2 separate regions of the Homo sapiens genome follow, and region 1 is linked to region 2. Evidence: promoter capture Hi-C in 16 types of primary human blood cells and fetal thymus (Javierre and others, 2016). All regions are on one chromosome and are shown on one strand. Each heading gives the region's core, a stretch centred on a gene start or on the middle of the fragment in contact. The rest is flanking DNA. Distances are from core to core; before and after follow the strand shown. Region 1 has its middle 66 kb from the start of FLJ33534. Region 2 holds the start of KCNF1 (potassium voltage-gated channel modifier subfamily F member 1).

What was found. The method cuts DNA at HindIII sites, captures the fragments that hold promoters and counts their contacts. A CHiCAGO score of 5 or more calls a contact.
Region 1: a fragment that was not itself captured here is called in contact with the fragment with the promoter of KCNF1 in region 2 in 1 of 17 cell types (endothelial precursors); the score reaches 5.1 in endothelial precursors.

The regions. Positions count from the first base shown.
Region 1 is chr2:11,063,068-11,068,301 of GRCh38, forward strand. No RefSeq gene overlaps it. Among named protein-coding and RNA genes, the nearest start is that of FLJ33534, 66 kb to the right of the region's middle. The HindIII fragment of the contact is 427 bases long and covers 1,816-2,242 here.
Region 2 is chr2:10,908,676-10,913,895 of GRCh38, forward strand. It overlaps KCNF1 (potassium voltage-gated channel modifier subfamily F member 1), which reads left to right and starts at 3,259. Exons shown (of 1, transcript NM_002236.5): 1 at 3,259-5,220. The coding sequence starts at 3,752. RefSeq lists an enhancer at 304-804. The HindIII fragment of the contact is 10,094 bases long and covers 1-5,220 here.

The sequences.
Region 1 (5,234 bases), core at 779-3,278, 150 kb after region 2:
GCTTTACATTGTTGGTGGGAATGTAAATTAGTTCAACCACCGTGGAAGACAGTGTGGCAATTCCTCAAGGATCTAAAGCTAGAAATACCATTTGACCCAGCAATCCCATTCCTGGGAATATACCCAAAGGAATATCAATCATTCTATTATAAAGATACATGCACACATATGTTTATTGCAGCACTATTCACAATAGCAAAGACTTGCAACCAACCCAAATGTTCACCAGTGATAGACTGGATAAAGAAAATGTGGTACATATACACCATGGAATACTATGCAGCCATAAAAAGGAATGAGATTATGTCCTTTGCAGGAACATGGATGAAGCTGGAAGCCATCATCCTCAGCAAACTAACACAGGAACAGAAAACCAAACACCACATGTTCTCACTCATAAGTGGGAGCTGAACAATGAGAACACATAGACACAGGGAGGGGAAAGACACACATTGGGGCCTGTCATGGAGGCAGGAGGAGGGAGAGCATCAGGACTAATAGCTAATGCATGTGGGGCTTAATACCTAGGTGATAGGTTGATAGGTGCAGCAAACCACCATGGCACACGTTTACCTATGTAACAAACCTGCACATTCTGCACAAGTGTCTGGGAACCTAAAATAAAATAAATTTTTTTTAAAAAAGAAAGCACGAAAATCTCATTTAAAAAAAGTTTTCTATTCCTACTTAGTTGAGTGTATTTAAGACAACTGGATATTTAGTTTTGTCAAATGCTTTGCCTGCATCTTTTGTGATGGTCATATAGTTTATATTTTTTATTCTGTTAATATGATTAATTACATTGATTGACTTTCAAATGTTGAATCACCCTTGCATTCCTGGGATAATTCCCATATAATCATGCTGTATTGTCCTTTTTATATATTACTGGATTCAATTTGCTAATATTGTGTTGAGGATTTTGTATCTAGGTTAATGAGGGATATTTGTAGTTTTCTTATAGTGTCTTTGTCTTGTTTGATATCAGAGTAACGCTGGCCTCATAAAATGAGTTGAGAAATATTTCTTCCCCTTCTACTTTCTCTAAGCAATTGTGTCGAATTGGTATTATTCTGCTTTAAAGAATTTGCCAATGAAACCACCTAGTCCTGGACTTTTCTTTTTTTTTTTTCCAGAAGATTTTAACTATGAATTCAATTTCCTTAAGAAATGTTGATATTTATAGTATATTCAGGTTATGTATTTTTAATGAATGTTGGTACTTTTTCTTCTTCAAATAATTAGTCAGTTTAGTACAAGTTATCCTGCTTAAAGGCACAGGGTTGTTCATAGTATGCCCTTATTATGTGAATGTCTGTAGGGTCTTTAGTGATATCCCACACTTGCATTTCTGATTTTAGGAATTCGTGTGTCCTCTTTTCTTAAAAAATCGTTTTTAATTGACAAATAAAAATTGTATACATTTATGGTGTACAGATAATGTTCTGATACCTGTATACATTGTAGAATGACTAAAGCAAACTAATTAATGTATTTACTCACATATTTATTTTTTGTGTTAAGAACATTTCAAATCTACTGTCTTAGCAATTTTCAAGTATATAGTACATTGATATTAACTAAAGTTATCACGTTGTACAATAGATCTGTTGGTTCCCTTTTTCATATTGGTCAGTTTGGCCAGAAGTTTATTAATTGTGTTGATATTTTACCAAATACCGATTTGGGGCTTCATTGATTATTTTCTATTATTTTTCTATTTTCAGTGGCATTGATTTATGCTGATATCTTTACTAGTTCCTTCCTTCTTCTTGAATGTAGTCTGTTCTTCTTTTTCCAATTCCTTAAGATATAAGCTTGGGTTATTGACATGAGCCATTTTCCTTTTCTAATATAAGCATATAATACTGTAAATTGCTTTAAACATTGCTTTAACTGCATCTCAGAAATTTAGATATCTTGAATACGTCATTCTTCAAGTTTGGTTTCCCTTCCCAATCTGCCTGCTATTTTTAACTTTTCAGTATATTTTGTCCGGAGCTTTTAGTTGTAATTGGTGTGAGGGAAAGGCTGTAGTGAGCCTAGTTCAACCTGGCTTACACTAGACATCTATACAACCTATTATATTAATTATATCACTTAGTTCTATATCCTTAATTAGTTATTTGGCTACTTGATTTATCATATGCTAAAAAGATGAATTAATATCTTCTACTATTAATGTGTTTCTTTTTCTCCTTGTATTTTCTGTAATTTTTGCTTCATGAGTGTTGACTCATGAAGCTTTATAATTGGAAGGCATCTTAGTTTGGGTTTCACAAAAGGTATGCTGTACTCAGTTTATAAGAAATTACCACCAACGGAGTGCCTTAAAACAACAGCCATTTATTTTCCCACAGTTTATATTGGTCAGAGGTCAAGACATAACCTAGCTTCTCTGCTCAGGATCTCAAAAGGCTGAAGTCAAGGTGTTAGCTGGGGCTACGATCTCAGGAGGTGGGAATCTTGGGGTCATTTTAGAATTCTGCCACCACGTGGACCCTTAGACAAGAACTTGGGTTGTTTATTTGGAAGGTGATCCCGGGAAACAGGAGTGAGAGAGTGAGAAGTGAGACAGGGGAGAAGTGAGGAAGGAAGAAGCCATGGTCCACATACATTAGGGTCACTGCTGCAGGTGCTCAGAGGGTAACTGGCATCTCTTATGCTAGAGAAAGTCAGGGACCACGAATGTATGAGTCTGTATGCGATTGCCTGTGAAGATGGAGGAATTAAATAAGGGGAAGGTGAGCAAAAGGGGTGAGGGGAAGAAAGATGAGAAGCCAGGTCGGGTAGGAAAAGAAAAGTACACCGAACTGGGAATCAGGAGCCTGCATTCCAGTCTGGCTCTGCCACAAATTTCCTGGGTCATAGACCTTTCTGAACTGCAGTATCCCTGGCTGTAAATACATAAAGTTACATAAACTTCCTCATAAGCACTTTACTAGCAGTAACAATCTATGACTCCAAGACAGATGAACGGCGACAGCCCTAACTGGCAATGCCAAGAAATCTCAGAATAAACAAACAGCATATAATTGTACGCTGAGATTCTAGAGATGGCCACACAATGAGAGTCATGCCTAGGCACTGAGAAATGTGGACAGAGGAAATACCCTGGTATCTTCCACCTGAAGCAGCAGCCACCGCTGTCAGAACCCTCTGGGGAGGCTGTGATCACCAAGAACCCAAGGGCTGGAGACGTTCCTTCTGACGGTGCTGAGAAAGTCCAGCTGCGGAGGAAAGGAGAGGGCCAGGCTATTCAGAAAGCTTCCCAAGGAATCCAAGCCTTCTCTCTCACAGGGAACATAGCAGGACGAGGTCGATCCACTGCCCGTTTCAAAAGACAGAAGGTGGAGCATTAACCAAGAAGATGCCAGGACCCATCAACTTGCATCAACTGTGATGGTAACAGAAGAAAGAGCAAATTCTGGCTGCAGGTCTGTCACCAAATTGGGAGAAGGCAGAGTCAAAATTGTGGTTCCAGCAAGACAGGGCTGCAAAGAAGCTCCTCCAGTTTGGAAGCAGATGCTACAGCCCAGTGAGATGGTGGTTGCGGTGAGAATGCACCTTTTCTTTTTTTTTCTTTTTATTTTTTTACTATTTTTTTATTATACTTTAAGTTTTAGGGTACATGTGCACAACGTGCAGGTTTGTTACATATGTATACATGTGCCATGTTGGTGTGCTGCACCCATTAACTCGTCATTAAACATTAGGTATATCTCCTAATGCTATTCCTCCCTCCTTCCCCCATCCCATAACAGGCTCCCGTGTGTGATGTTCCCCTTCCTGTGTCCATGTGTTCTCATTGTTCAATTCCCACCTATGAGTGAGAACATGCGGTGTTTGCTTTTTTGTCCTTGTGATAGTTTGCTGAGAAAGATGGTTTCCAGCTTCATCCATGTCCCTACAAAGGACATGAACTCATCCTTTTTTATGGCTGCATAGTATTCCATGGTGTATATGTGCCACATTTTCTTAATCCAGTCTATCATTGTTGGACATTTGGGTTGGTTCCAAGTCTTTGCTATTGTGAATAGTGCCGCAATAAACATATGTGGAGAGCGCACCTTTTCGATTCGTCTGCAGGGAAGTGATCGCTCAGGCCTTCGCTGACATGCTCTGAAACCGTTCCCTACGCTTGTGCTGAAACAATTCCCATCAGCCACTCCTAGCCACGACGGAGCATGCCAGGGACACTGAGGCAGGCCCATTCCTGGGAGATGGGTCTCCCCTGACAGGTGACTGTGGCTCCAAGTTTCACCAGGACGAGGCCGACCTGCCCTGAGAACCTCATGGTGGACTCAGCCCCCTCCTCAGATCCCCCTTCCTCTCCCTGCGCTCCTCTGATGGGCATCGCCATCCCACGGCTCGCCTCGCCTCTCTGCACCCCACCCCATCTTCCCCCACTTGCATGTCCCCTGATTTTCCGGCTTTACTTTTTTGCTGGTGTCTGCTCCTCAGAGCTCCCAAGCTCCACAAATGGTTCCAGGGATGGTCCAAGAAAACGGTCGGTCAGAGGAGGATTTGGGACCGGCTTGTCCACTGCCCAGAGGATGACAAGGATGCCATCCTGGTTAAAGACAGGACACTGATAGTTTCTGGAACCCGGGCCAGCTGAAGCTTCCCCCAGTAGTGACCTTGGAAAACCTCCCAGCAGAGGAGGGTCAACAAGCAGCTGTGATTCATGGGACAGCCGTCGGGCCTCTGTGGTAGCTCCCGAAGAGGCCCTCGTCTCTCACACGTGGGCTGAGCAGGCGCAGAGCTCCACAGCCATCTGCGCAGTCGGCCAAGCCAGATCTGCCATGCAAAGGTTGGGGCTCTAAGGAGGGGACCCTGGGACCCTGAAACATGGATGGCTGCCCCCAGGAATCCCCTGCAGGTCCCTCTGGCCCCTTTGTGCTTGCAGAGGTGCCCCACCCTTCCCTAATAGGAGCTAGCACTTCTGCCAGGATGGAGGATGCTGCAGGGACCACTGCCCCACAAGGCAATGGAGGCCCCTCAGGAGTTGCACCCATGCCATCTCCTGGCTGCTAACTGCTATAGTTAAATCTTAGCATAAATGGTCCTGGGTTTGTCCTGGCCTGATAAGGAAGGAGGTTATGTACTTACAGGAGGGCAAGAATGAGCCAGCATGACCAGCAGGAAGGGACTGCTCTGACTGGGGTCCCACGGCCTGGGATGCTGAGACCGGGTGAGCAGAAACTTATTGACGGGGGCATTGTCTTGCATTA
Region 2 (5,220 bases), core at 2,009-4,508:
GGCTTTGCATCTGCTGCCCCTCCCCTCCCACTTCTGCACCAGACCAGCTTTCTCCCCACTGGGCCTGGGATTTGCTGAATGGACTTGGAGTCAGAGTCAGCCTCTGGCTGCTATGACCTGATTCAAGCCGTATTTATTTTTCCACGTCTGATATTCTCTGTTATTTTCTAATACTCAATACGTTAATTTCACAGCCAGCTACTGAGCCACGACCTAAAGTATGAAGTGCTGACTTGTGGTCCAGATGCCTCCAGGGCCGCTGAGACCCTCCGGGGTCTGTTTCCAGCTGACTCCACCAGCCTCAGGCCTGCCAGCCTCACCTCCAAACCGTGTGGCCCTTTCAGCTGAGCAGGCAGGTGGCACTCAGACCTCCAGGCTCAGCTCACGCACTGGCTCTTCCGGGGGCCTGAGTCTCCAGCTTGTCATCACATCTTTCTAGATTCTAGATTTGTCCGCCTGCCATCCTCTCAGCCTGGGGTCAATAGTGTATTAACTATGATTTCTTATTTTCTGCATTCCTGATGACTGGCAATGTGGCCTCACAGACTGGAGAGACTGCCCCTCCCAGTGGGTGACATCCTTAGAGATTGCGAAAGGCTGGAGCGTATCTTTCACAGGCAAACCCACCAATTCCAGGCCCAGACCCCCAACTTCCCCTCATCAAACTCTCACACACCAAGGCAATATTTCCCTGCCCTAAATCATCCCAGACCAGGGACCAGGCAACTAGAGACCACCTCTGTAGTTCAAAGCCCACCAGAATTATCCCAAGGAGCCAATCCTGGACTCTTTCCTCTGTTCTGCCCTAACTTTTCCCCCAGGAAACCCCAATAGAGGGCCTGGCCTCGTTTTCCCCTCGCTCCTGCTTCTGCCTGGCCACACCTGGAATTTCCTCTGGCGTGTCCTCTTCTCTCAGGACATGTTAGTAATGCGTTCTTTCAATGACATTGATCTCTCTAAATCCCAGCGGTATAATTTTAATGCACCAGCCTCTCCTGGGCCTGCCCAGGTATCTGCAAACTCCCGGGTTCCACAGCACCTTGTATTTCATGACGATACAAAGGAGTAGCTATTGGGGCTCTATCTGCTGAGGGAGATTCATCAGACACCCCGATGCAAACCTGAGTGAGTGAAGGCTGGGCTTCTAGGCAAATGCAGCCCCTCCCTCTTCCAACCAGATGGCCGCCCCTCAGCGCCCCCTGTGGAGAAATTCAGGAAGCACCACTCTTGTATAATACATATACCCCTCTTGTTAAGGTCATTACCCCAAACTGTTAATTATTATTTACAAAAAACATATTATCTACTAGAATATGAACCCTGTCCCCACACCTAGGGTGGTGTGTGTATGTGTGTGTGTGTGCATTTGCACACATGTGCCATAAGAGCTCGATAAATATTTGAATAACTGAGTGAATGAATGGGTATTTAGAAGCCCATTAAGCTCAGACTAGGATGCAATTTGAACTTAACCCTGCAGGTACTCGGACAGCTGATAAGGGGAGTAGCATGCATAAGGATTGGAAGAGGAAGCTGGGGTGTGTGTAGGAGGTGGTGTGTAGCACTGTACTGGGGAGAAGAATAGGCCTCAGAACCCAGCAGGACAATGGTTAAATCCCAGCTCCACAGAGTGATCTCGGCAGGTTACCTGACATCTTGTTTCCTTAGGGGTTGCTGGGAAATTAAATGACAAAAATGCAAAGCACTCAGAGACTGCACTCCGATGCCCATGGAGAATAAGTGGCAACTCTTATTATTACTCAACCTTTCTGAGCCTCGATTTCCTACTCTGTAGTAGCATGTCATTGTCTGATGCTAAATGGAAATGAAGTAAAATTTGTAAAACGAAGTTTCACTAAATAATACTTCATGTGATGTATTCTAATATATTCTGTTTTATGCTAACTCATTAAAGAAAAAAGAATACTGTCAGTGACCCAGTAAATTGATTTCATAATCCATTAACGGACATGTCCTTAAGTTTTAAAAAACCCAGCCTACAGAATACATTTTTAAATAGACTTTATATTTTAGAGCACAATTCAACAGAAAGTACAGAGAATTCCCACATGCCCCCTGTCTCCACAGCTCTCCCCTGCGCATCAACATCTCACACAGGGTGGGACACTTGTCATGGTGGACCACCCCACATGGACACGTCATCATCGCCCAGCACCGAGTTTGCATTAACATTCGCTCCTGGTGGTGAACATTCTATGGATTTTGACCATTGCATAACGACACATATCCGCCATTATGGTACGTTTCACTGCCCTAAAAATCCTCTGCTCTGCCTATTCATTCTTCCCTCCAGAATATTTTTAACACGATCTCGAGGCCATAGATGATATCAGTAATTTGCAGTATTGATGATAGTGGTGAACCGGAGGAGAGAGACACTGTTAGGAAGCTGCTGTAGTGGTTCAGGTGAGTGAGGACAGAAGGACAGCTGTGGCTGCAAAGGCTGGAAGAGAGGAGGGTGTGGGACACTGGTCAGGAAGAGACAGGCCTTGGTCAAGGAGTGAGGAACGGGGAAGCAGGAGCCACTGGACCCTAGGGGTCTGGAAGCTAGTGGCCTTGGTGTGGGACTGCAGAGAGATAGGAGGTGCCAGACGGCAGGGACTTCAAGGCAGAATTGAAATCTGCTGAACAGCAGGCGTCGGTCAGCTGGGACAGCCGGAAAGCTCGGGATCAGGAGGCGGTCAAGCTGAGCTCTGCTCTCATTCCGCCGCGTGACCTTGGGCAAGTCCCTTCCCTTCTACAGGAGGCTGGACTAGATGTCCTCCTTGTACAGCGTTGCGGGGAAGGTGAGACAGTGCCACCAACACAGCAGGGCATTGCTGGGTCGGGGGGATGGGGCAGGAAACGCTTCAAGGATCAGGCAGGATTTTCCTCCCACCAGGAAAAGCCGGCGCGGGTCTAAGGCCGGAGGAGGGACCCAGACATAGGAGTCACCTTCTAAGGGGCTTCCTGGAGCACATTTTCCTGCCCAGCAACAGGCGGCAGCATTCTCTCCCCACTAATCCTCTCCAAACAGCAGTGAGAGAGAATGCCTGCCGCTTCAAGCCAGGTCGCAACCCCTCGGTGACCCGCTGCGCCCGAGGAGGGGCCGGCGGTGCGCGGTGGTGGCGGCGGGCGCGGCAGCTGTGCCCGTCTGCCCAAGGGTTAATCCGTCCCCTGCAGCTGCCGCGCGTGCCTTGCAGAATTTCACCAGAAGAGGGTACAGTTTGAAAAGCTCCTGACGTCAGGCTGGAATTCCTATTGTGTTTAGAAAAGGCTCGGGCAAAGCCAGCCCAAGTTCGCTCTCTGCACACCTCGAGCACCTCGCGGACGGCGTGGGTCCGCCAGCTCCGGGACCTGCCGCCGCTGCCTGCGCGCCCCGGGGCGGAGGACGGTGCCAGCCGCCCACGAGGAGACCCCGCTCCCGCAGGAGGCCGAGCTGAAGCGGCGGAGCGCGCCGCCAGCCAGCCGGGGTGAGTGCCCCGGGCGAGGCCGGCGGCCGCCAAAGCCCCCGCGGGCTCGCCCGGGCGCCCGGATGCCAGCCCCGAGCCCCGCCGCCGGGTGCATGCCTCCCCCGCGGCGCGCCCCCGCAGGCTGCTGCCCGCTGTGACCGCCCTTCCCCGCAGGCGGGCGCCGGCCAGGCTCTCCCCGAGATCAGCGCACGGGTGGCACCCGCCGGACCCCCAGCGGCAGCGGCGGCGGCGGCTGCAGGGGGCGCGGGGCGGAGGCTGCGAGGGCGCGCGCGGGGAGGATGGACGGGTCCGGGGAGCGCAGCCTCCCGGAGCCGGGCAGCCAGAGCTCCGCTGCCAGCGACGACATAGAGATAGTCGTCAACGTGGGGGGCGTGCGGCAGGTGCTGTACGGGGACCTCCTCAGTCAGTACCCTGAGACCCGGCTGGCGGAGCTCATCAACTGCTTGGCTGGGGGCTACGACACCATCTTCTCCCTGTGCGACGACTACGACCCCGGCAAGCGCGAGTTCTACTTTGACAGGGACCCGGACGCCTTCAAGTGTGTCATCGAGGTGTACTATTTCGGGGAGGTCCACATGAAGAAGGGCATCTGCCCCATCTGCTTCAAGAACGAGATGGACTTCTGGAAGGTGGACCTCAAGTTCCTGGACGACTGTTGCAAGAGCCACCTGAGCGAGAAGCGCGAGGAGCTGGAGGAGATCGCGCGCCGCGTGCAGCTCATCCTGGACGACCTGGGCGTGGACGCAGCCGAGGGCCGCTGGCGCCGCTGCCAGAAGTGCGTCTGGAAGTTCCTGGAGAAGCCCGAGTCGTCGTGCCCGGCGCGGGTGGTGGCCGTGCTCTCCTTCCTGCTCATCCTCGTCTCGTCCGTGGTCATGTGCATGGGCACCATCCCCGAGCTGCAGGTGCTGGACGCCGAGGGCAACCGCGTGGAGCACCCGACGCTGGAGAACGTGGAGACGGCGTGCATTGGCTGGTTCACCCTGGAGTACCTGCTGCGCCTCTTCTCGTCACCCAACAAGCTGCACTTCGCGCTGTCCTTCATGAACATTGTGGACGTGCTGGCCATCCTCCCCTTCTACGTGAGCCTCACGCTCACGCACCTGGGTGCCCGCATGATGGAGCTGACCAACGTGCAGCAGGCCGTGCAGGCGCTGCGGATCATGCGCATCGCGCGCATCTTCAAGCTGGCCCGCCACTCCTCGGGCCTGCAGACCCTCACCTATGCCCTCAAGCGCAGCTTCAAGGAACTGGGGCTGCTGCTCATGTACCTGGCAGTGGGTATCTTCGTCTTCTCTGCCCTGGGCTACACCATGGAGCAGAGCCATCCAGAGACCCTGTTTAAGAGCATCCCCCAGTCCTTCTGGTGGGCCATCATCACCATGACCACCGTCGGCTACGGCGACATCTACCCCAAGACCACGCTGGGCAAGCTCAACGCGGCCATCAGCTTCTTGTGTGGTGTCATCGCCATCGCCCTGCCCATCCACCCCATCATCAACAACTTTGTCAGGTACTACAACAAGCAGCGCGTCCTGGAGACCGCGGCCAAGCACGAGCTGGAGCTGATGGAACTCAACTCCAGCAGCGGGGGCGAGGGCAAGACCGGGGGCTCCCGCAGTGACCTGGACAACCTCCCTCCAGAGCCTGCGGGGAAGGAGGCGCCGAGCTGCAGCAGCCGGCTGAAGCTCTCCCACAGCGACACCTTCATCCCCCTCCTGACCGAGGAGAAGCACCACAGGACCCGGCT